Regions from separate parts of the Homo sapiens genome. Here region 1 is linked to region 2. Evidence: promoter capture Hi-C in human tissues and cell types (Jung and others, 2019). All regions are on one chromosome and are shown on one strand. Each heading gives the region's core, a stretch centred on a gene start or on the middle of the fragment in contact. The rest is flanking DNA. Distances are from core to core; before and after follow the strand shown.

The links. Contacts are between HindIII fragments. The study calls those that stand out against the background at their distance.
Region 1: a fragment that was not itself captured here is called in contact with the fragment with the promoter of CYP4F2 in region 2 in 2 of the 25 tissues and cell types used here (bladder and dorsolateral prefrontal cortex).

The regions. Positions count from the first base shown.
Region 1 is chr19:15,831,186-15,835,693 of GRCh38, forward strand. LOC124900418 (collagen alpha-1(I) chain-like) reads left to right here. Exons shown (of 3, transcript XM_047439793.1): 2 at 70-171; 3 at 4,033-4,508. UCA1 (urothelial cancer associated 1) reads left to right here. Exons shown (of 3, transcript NR_015379.3): 2 at 70-171; 3 at 3,317-4,508. Among named protein-coding and RNA genes, the nearest start is that of UCA1, 4.5 kb to the left of the region's middle. RefSeq lists an enhancer at 3,753-4,508. The HindIII fragment of the contact is 5,632 bases long and covers 1-4,508 here.
Region 2 is chr19:15,896,101-15,901,071 of GRCh38, forward strand. It overlaps CYP4F2 (cytochrome P450 family 4 subfamily F member 2), which reads right to left and starts at 1,974. Exons shown (of 13, transcript NM_001082.5): 1 at 1,926-1,974; 2 at 1,314-1,512. The coding sequence starts at 1,511. The HindIII fragment of the contact is 5,329 bases long and covers 1-4,518 here.

The DNA.
Region 1 (4,508 bases), core at 1,145-3,644, 64 kb before region 2:
CTAATATCACAGCCCCTTCTAGGGTCCCTGGAGCTCTGGCTCAAAGCTCTCTGGCTGACTCCTTCCCAGATCTCCTCGGCTTAGTGGCTGAAGACTGATGCTGCCCGATCGCCTCAGAAGCCCCTTGGACCATCACAGATGCCGAGCTTCGGGTAACTCTTACGGTGGAGGGTAAGTCCATCCCCTTTTTAATCAATACGGGGGCTACCCACCCCACATTACCTTCTTTTCAAGGGCCTGTTTCCTTTGCCCCCGTAACTGCCGTGGGTATTGACGGCCAAGCTTCTAAACCCCTTAAAACTCCCCAACTCTGGTGCCAACTTGGACAACATTCTTTTATGCACTCCTTTTTAGTTAACCCCACCTGCCCAGTTCCCTTATTAGGCTGAGATATTTTAACCACATTATCTGCTTCCCTGACTATTGCTGGGCTACAGCCACACCCCATTGCTGTCCTTTTCCCCAATTCAAGGCCTCTTTCGCATCCTCCCCTTGTATCTCCCCACCTTAATCCTCAAGTATAGGATACTTCTACTCTTTCTTTGGCAACTGACCATGCACTCCTTACCATTCCATTAAAACCTAATCACCCTTACCCTGCTCAATACCAGTATCCCAGCCCGCAGCAGGCTTTAAAGGGAACTGAAGCCTGTTATCACTTGCCTGTTACAACGTGGCCTTTTGAAGCCTACAAATTCTCCTTACAACTCCCCTATCCTACCCATCCAGAAACCGGACAAGTCCTAGAGGCTAGTTCAAGACCTTCACCTCATAAATCAGATTGTCCTTCCCATCCATCCTGTTGTGCCAAACCCTATACTCTCCTCTCCTCGACACCCCCTTCCACAACTCATTATTCTGTTATCCACCTCAAAGATGCCTTCTTTACCATCCCCTTGCATCCCTCCTCCCAACCTCTTTTCACCTTTACTTGGACTGACCCTGACACCCACCAGTCCCAGCAATTCACCTGGATTGTCCGACCCCAAAGTTTCAGGGACAGCCCACACTACTTTGGTCAGGCCCTCTCTCATGACTTTCTTTCTGCCCATCTGCCTCCCACCTTATTCAATATGTTGAAGACCTTCTTCTTTGCAGCCCTTCTTACCAATCTTCCCAGCAGGACACTATCCTATCCTACTTCTTCAATATCTCTACTCAAAGGGGTACTGAGTATCCCCCTCTAAAGCTCATATTTCCTCCCCTAGTGTTACATATCTCGACATAGTCCTCCATCAACATACACGCACTCTTCCTGCAGACTGTGTTCAGTTAATCTCCCAGACCCTATTCCCCACCACCAAACAACAACTCCTTTCCTTCTTAGGCGTTGTTGGATACTTCCGACTCTGGGTACCAAGGTTTTGCCATTCTAACCAAACTGCTTTACAAACTCACTAAAGGTAATTTAGCTGATCCCATAGACCATAAGTCCTTTCCCCATGCTTCCTTTCATTCTCTCAAAAAGGCCCTAGAAACAGCTCCCACACTAGCACTCCCTGACTTGTCCCAACCTTTTTCCTTACACACAGCTGAAACACAAGGCTGTGCTGCTGGAGTTCTCACACAGGAGCCAGGCCCACGACCTATAGCCTTTCTATCCAAACAACTTGACCTCACAATTCTAGGCTGGCCCTCATGTCTACATGTGGTGGCAGCTGCCGCTTTAACACTTCCAGAGTCTCTCAAAATCACAGGCTATGCTCCACTTACCCTCTACAGTTCTCACAACCTTCAAGCATTAATATCCTCCTCACACCTTTCACACTTGCTGTCTGCCCCTCGACATCTCCAGCTCTATTCACTCTTTATTGAAACCCCAACAATAACTACTGCCCATGGGCCCGATTTCAACCCAGCTTCTCACTTAGCACCCAACACAAGTCCTGGCCAACATGATTGTATCTCCCTAATACACATAGCATCTTCCCCCTTTCCTCATATTTCTATTTTTCCAATCCCAAATCCAGACCACACTTGGTTTATTCATGGCAGTTCCTCTAAACCCAGTCAAATCTCGCCAGCTAAAGCTGGTTATGCTGTCGTGTCCCATACCTCTATTATTGAGGCTGCTGCACTTCCTCCCTCCACTACTTCCCAACAAGCCAAACTGATTGCTTTAACTTGTGCACTCTCTGTCGCCAAAGGAATGCACATTAAAATTTATATTGACTCCTAATATGCTTTCCACATCCTCCACAACCATGCTACCCTTTGGACTGAAAGAGGTTTTCTCACCACACAAGGCTCTTCCATTATCAATACCTCTCTAATAAAGGCCCTCCTTAATGCTGCTCTCTTGCTGGCCAAAGCTGGGTTCATTCATTGTAAAGGACACCAGAAACCAACTGATCTTATTGCTAAAGGAAATGCCTACGCCAACAGGACAGCAAAAGAAACAGCAAATGCCTCCACGCCTGCAAATATTCTAGCCCTCACCCCAAAAGGCTAGTACTTTTCTTTCTTCTCTATCACCCCCACCTACTCCTCTTCTAAAAAACCTGCTCTACCAGTCTTTTCCAACTCAGGGCAAGTGGTTCTTAGATCATGGAAAATTCGTTCTTCCTGCCTCACAAGCCCAGTCTACTCTCTCTTCCCTTCATGACCATTTCCATATAGGATATAAGCCTCTGGCTGGCCTCCTACAGCCCCTCATTTCCATCCCATCATGGAAATCCATCCTTAAAACCATCACCTCTCAATGCTCTGTCTGCCATGCCACCAACCCCCGAGGTCTTCTCAGGCCTCCTCCTTTTCCTACGCATCAGGCTCATGGATTTCCTCCGACACAAGATTGGCAAATTGACTTTATTCATATGCCGCGTGTCTGTAAATTTAAATATCTCCTGGTTTGGGCCAATACCTTCACCGGATGGGTCGAGGCCTTTCCCACTAGCTCTGAAAGGCTACTACAGTCATTTCTTCCCTTCTGACAGATATAATCCCCCAATTTGGCCTCCCTACTTCCACAGTTTCTCAGGCTCTTGGTATTCAGTGGAAACTTCATACCCCCTACCGTCCTCAATCTTCAGGAAAGGTAGAACGGATGAATGGTCTTTTAAAAACACACCTCACCAAGCTCAGCCTCCAACTTAAAAAGGACTGGACAGTACTTTTACCACTTGCCCTCCTCAGAATTAGGGCCTGTCCTTGAGAAGCCACAGGGTACAACCCATTTCAATTTTATATGGATGCACCTTCTTACTCAGCCACAATCTTGTTCCAGACACCAGCCCCCTGGGCAACTATCTTCCAGTCCTCTAGCAGGCTAGACAGGAAATTTGCCAAGCTGCTAATCTTCTCTTGCCTACTCCAGATTCCCAGCCATATGAAGACACCCTAGCTGGACGATCAGTCCTTGTCAAAAGTCTGACCCCTCAAACTCTACAGCCTCAATGGACCAGACCCTACCCGGTCATTTATAGCACACCAACTGCCGTCCATCTGCAGGACCCTCTCCATTGGGTTCACCATTCCAGAATAAAGCCATGCCCATCAGACAGCCAGCTTGATCTCTCCTCTTCCTCCTGGAAGCCACAAGATTAGGCCGAGAGCCGATCAGACAAACAACCTACAACCCTTAAGCTCCTGGCAGCGCCCAGCCAAGGCCATGCTTCCTTGCAACACTCCTTCCAAATGGCCATCCCAGCATGCTTCCAAGCAGGCTTCATCCGTTCCTCTGGACCCTCATCTCTTAAGACCTGCCGCCTATAAAAAGGATTATATCTTGAGACCCTATCCTCTAAAATTTTTTCCACACCCAAAACAAAAAATCTCTGGGTCAAAAGTCTAAAACGCTTAGGCTGGCAACCATCAGATCCTTGCCCATGGTGTCCTCAAGCCTACTCTCATGAAATGGACAACAGTACACGCATATGGGGCCAGTTCCACATATTTGGCAACCAGACCAGCATCCAGGACAACACAAAGTATGTTGTTTGTTGTTAGAGGGCTTGGGACATTTCACTCTTTGCCAGCCTCAGCTTAATCCAGGAGACAAAGATTATTTTCCTTATTATCTCTTCTGCATAGGATCTGCAATCAGAACTATTGAACTTCTCCATTCAGACCGCCACTCACACCTATGGGAAAAGGGTAATGTATCATCGGCTTAGCAACAGGGAATACTATTCGTATGATGGAAAATGGGGACAAAAGGCTTTGGTACATAAAACATTATTCCTTCCTTGGCCTAAAAACTCATCGCCACCTACATTAAAGCTAATATGCCTGATTACTGTTTTTAGAGAACTTATTTTATTAGGGCAGTTCCAAGCTCAAAAATACGCTAACTGGCACCTTGTTAGCTACATAAAAATGCACCCTAGACCCGAAACTTACTAGACTCATTATAAAATTTTCTTTAAGGTGTCCACGCAGTCCCTGGTCACACTTGAAGCAGTCCGGAGAAATATCAGCCCTACCCCAGTAATCCCCAGAAGGAACTTACACTTTTTTTTAATCTTTTCCTACAACTTCATATTTTATAAATAAAAAGACAAAAATGT
Region 2 (4,971 bases), core at 724-3,223:
CATCCATGCTATCTGTGCATCCATGTGTCCATGCATCCATCTATTCTATTATCTATCTACCTACGTGCCTGTCCATCCATCCATCCATCCATCTATCCATCCTATCTGTGCATCTATCTATCTATCCTATTAGCTATCTATCTATCTATCTATCTATCTATCTATCTATCTATCTACATTCCTCCTGCTCTATCTATCTATCTATCCACATTCCTCCTGCTCTATCTCTCTTGGGTCCATCTCCAAGTCCCAAGGGTGCATCCCAGGGCAGAGGGAGAAGACGCACTGTCCACTCACAGAGGCCCAGTTATCTTGAGAGGAAGGATTTTCTTTTTCTGGGAGTCATTTCAGCCCAGAGGCAGCTATATGGGGAGGTCCTCACAGGGGAGATTTGTGGGGAGCAGTATCGCCTCAGGACATGTCCCTAAGGCTGGTCCCCACATGCCTTCATGTCCTGGCTGATCCACAGAGGCTCCAGTTCCTCCCATGGAGAAGGTTCTGCACATGGGAGACCTTCCCTTTTCAGCAGCCACTAGTGGAGCAGAGGTGACTCTAACTGTCCATCAGGACAATGGCTCCCACCTGGGAGCAGCTTCTGCAGCAGGCTCTGTGCTAGTGTGTCCTGTGCACCCTTCCACTTTATCTGTGGACACATCCATCAATCCTGCCATTTGCAAATGAGCAGACTAAGACCACATTCCCCAAAGAGGAGAGCGGTCTAAGTCAGAGGGCAAGGTCACGGGGAGGAGAAAGGCCAAGGAAAGCTTCTGAAAGGTGAAGTGAGTGGCCAACTTTTATCTGGGTTTGGCAACAGGTCTCATTGATAAGAGGGAGATAAGAAGAAGAATATAAGAGAAAGGTGCCTTCGGGTGTAGTGGAAGTGGGAGACGGCCCATGCCTCTCCTCTGGCCCAGCTGTACCCTCATAACAGGAAATAGTCCAGGCAAGGAGAGGACCCTGGACAGTGGGCATAAGAAGCCTCGAGTCCAGCAATGGAGAATGTGGGAATGCCAGGGACTCGCCTCTCTGTGCAGCCAACCCTCTGCCCAGGAGCCCCGCAGAGGTGCATTAATGTGGGAAGACAGGCAGGAAAAGGATTCAATGCAGGCCTGGAGTGGGAGGACAAGGAAGTGAGAAGGGCTTGCGTAGGCACCTCACAGAAATGAATAAGCAGAGGAATGAGTAAGATGCCTCCTCTGCTTCTCTGCCACCCCAGATCCCAGCCCACCCCTTCACCCCCACTCCCTAAGCCTCGTACCCCTCAGGAAGTCCATCCATCCTGAGACCTAGACCCATCCTGCTGCCACACTCACCATGCCCTGGTGTCCCCAAAACCAGTTCCGTCTTGGGGGTTGTGGGAAACACCGAAGGCGGCGGCAGTTGTCATAGAAGGCGTAGGTCCAGGCCAGGACATGGGCCAGGAGCCAGGAGGCCCCGACCAGCAGGAGGAGCAGCCAAGGGGATGCTGCCACTGGCCAGAGGCCCAGCCAGGACAGGCTCAGCTGGGACATCCTGCAGGGCAGACGGGATGGACGGTGAGATCCTGAGGCCCAGAGAACGGCCCAGGGACCTCCAGGGACAGTGGAGAGGCAGGGACGGGCAGTGCCGGAGGTAGAGCAGGGAGGGCTCAGGGATGGGTAAAAAGGGGCTGAGAGGTAAAGTCCAGAAAGGCCCAACCAAAACCAGCAGCCAAGTGGCCTCCAGTTCCCTAGTAAGCACTTAGAATGGGAAAGAGAGAGAGAGACTGATTAAAGTCCAGAAAGGCCCAGCCTGAATCACTGTGAGGTTGCCAGGGGCTTGGTTTCAGTTACTCGGAAACCACCCATCCTCCAGGCCAGCACCCAGGAGCTGCGTGGGCCTTGGGCAGTGCCCCTCTCCATCCCAGGCCAGGACCCCCCCCAGGCCTGCCACCCCCAGCCTGGCACCTTCTGTCAGGAGCAGTCTGTCCCAGACAACCTCCTCTCTCTGTCTGCTGGGAGGCCTTTGACCCTGGCCCTTGATATAGCAAAGGCTGTGGGAGGGCTGGCTGGGTTGGGCTGGGCCAACCAATCCCTGCAGCCTGGATGTGTCTCCTGAGCCTGGGCAGCCAATCAACACCTGGCGTCAGGCCAGCTGGGTGCAGAGGAATCAGCTCAGGGTCCAGATGGATGGGTAGATGCACAGATAGATAGAGTAGATAGGATGGATACATTAGGTAGATAGATAAAGTAGATATAGATAATGGATATATTAGACAGATGGATAGATAGCTATTAATAGATGATAGATAGATACATAGATAATAGGATAAATAGATGGAATGGATAAACGTACAGCTAAGATGGATTGATGGATGGATGGGTAGGCAAATATATATATAGATGAGAAATTAGATAGATAGGATGAATAGATTAGATAGACACACCCAGAAATAATGTTCCATCTCTGTCCCAGATATGTGGGATCCTCATTTGTGACATGGGAACTAGGGATCTTGGATCACTCCAATCACTCCAGATGCTACAAGGCCAGTGACTTACTCAGTATGATGCTGAGGAACATGACCATCAGAAACAGGATCAGAGTCACTCTCAAGCAAAAAAAAAAAAAAAAAAAAAAAAAAAAAAAAAAAAAACTCCAAGGATTAAATGATTTTTCCCATTGTCCTGGGGAGAAATTAATCCAAGGGAGGTCACAGGAGGGCAAATAATTCCCCATCACCACCACCACCACCATGAGCATACCATCACCCATGGAGTTTTCTGATTTACTCTTTGGCCCATTAAGCGTGAAATTTCTTATGCTAGGTTTCTTTCTGATAAGGGAGAAGAGATTAGTATCTCTACATTTCCTCTCCTCCTGCTACCTAGTCTCTGTATTCTAGGTTAAATTATAATTTATGTTGAGGATTTACAATGGCTGATACACCTAGCTGAGCCTTCTGCACAGAGATACATTGGGAGTGGAGGTTAATTGGGTCAAAGGAGAAATGCCATAAGCCCACACTCCAGCCTATCAGGGTGGATTAAAGGTCTGATTTGCCCAACTCTTGTCACACCTGCTCCCACTGAGAGGTGACAGCATGCTGGCAGTCCTCACAGCCCTCACTCGCTCTCGGCGCCTCCTCTGCCTGGGCTCCCACTTTGGCGGCACTTGAGGAGCCCTTCAGCCCACCGCTGCACTGTGGGAGCCCCTTTCTTTTCTCTTCTTTTCTTTTTTTTTGGATTTTTTTATTATTATTATTATACTTTAAGTTTTAGGGTACATGCGCACAATGTGCAGGTTAGTTACATATGTATACATGTGCCATGCTGGTGCGCTGCACCCACTAACTCGTCATCTAGCATTAGGTATATCTCCCAATGCTATCCCTCCCCCCTCCCCCCACCCCACAACAGTCCCCAGAGTGTGATGTTCCCCTTCCTGTGTCCATATGTTCTCATTGTGTAGGGACATGGATGAAATTGGAAATCATCATTCTCAGTAAACTATCGCAAGAACAAAAAACCAAACACCGCATATTCTCACTTATAGGTGTAGGAGCCCCTTTCTAGGCTGGCCAAGGCCAGAGCCGGCTCCCTCAGCTTGCAGGGAGGTATGGAGGGAGAGGCGCGAGTACGAACCGGGGCTGCGCGCGGCACTTGCGGGCCAGCTAGAGTTCCAGGTGGGCGTAGGCTTGGCAGGCCCCGCACTCGGAGCAGCCGGCCGGCCCTGCCAGCCCCGGGCAATGAGGGGCTTAGCACCCGGGCCAGCGGCTGCTCGGGAAGGTGTACTCGGTCCCCCAGCAGTGCCAGCCCACCGGCGCTGCGCTCGATTTCTCGCCGGGCCTTAGCTGCCTTCCCGCGGGGCAGGGCCCAGGACCTGCAGCCCGCCATGCCTGAGCCCCCGGCCTCCGTAGGTTCCTGTGCAGCCCGAGCCTCCCCGATGAGCGCCGCCCCCTGCTCCAGGGCGCCCAGTCCCATCGACCACCCAAGGGCTGAGGAGTGCGAGCGCACGGCGCGGGACTGGCAGGCAGCTCCACCTGCAGCCCCGGTGCGGGATCCACTGGGTGAAGCCAGCTGGGCTTCTGAGTCTGGTGGGGACGTGGAGAACCTTTGTGTCTAGCTCAAGGATTGTGAACGCACCAATCAGCGCCCTGTCAAAACAGACCACTTGGCTCTACCAATCAGCAGGACATAGGTAGGGCCAGATAAGAGAATAAAAGCAGGCTGCCCGAGCCAGCAGTGGCAACCCGCTCAGGCCCCCTTCCACATTGTGGAAGCTTTGTTCTTTCACTCTTTGCAATAAATCTTGCTGCTGCTCACTCTTTAGGTTCACACTGCTTTTATGAGCTGTAACACTCACCGCGAAAGTCTGCAGCTTCACTCCTGAGCCAGCGAGACCACGAACCCACCAGAAGGAAGAAACTCCGAACACATCTGAACATCAGAAAGAACAAACTCCAGACGCGCCACCTTAAGAGCTGTAACACTCACCGCGAGGGTCCGCGGCTTCATTCTTGAAGTCAGTGAGACCAAGAACCCACCAATTCCGGACACACCATTGTCTGAGTAAGTTTGGGTGCCAGGACTATGAGGTCGTGTGAAGACTTCCAGCCCCATACCTGCAGAACAGTCTGCAGCTCACTCTGCTCTGAACTGCCCCAACTTTGCACAGATATTCTCCATTCCTCGAAATGAAACTGTATCCTTCAAAGCTCACACATTTCGCTTATTGGCTCAGCGTAGGGAGCAAGTTCTCTAGATAGCTTACTACCAAATAAAATGGTGGAGAAGGGAACCCAGGCAGCTGGGCACAAAAAAGGAATGAGCAACAAGCTTCCTCTCTGAACATGATTTTCTGTGTAAGGTCTTGGACACTCCCTCGACTGCTTCCAGCCATCTGCCTCATGCTAGGTTTCTAGTTAATGTGGAATGAAAACTCTCACATCTTCCTTCTAGATGTAGCTGTGGTAATTGCAACTTAGGCAGTTGTGCTTGAGAATCTTCTTCT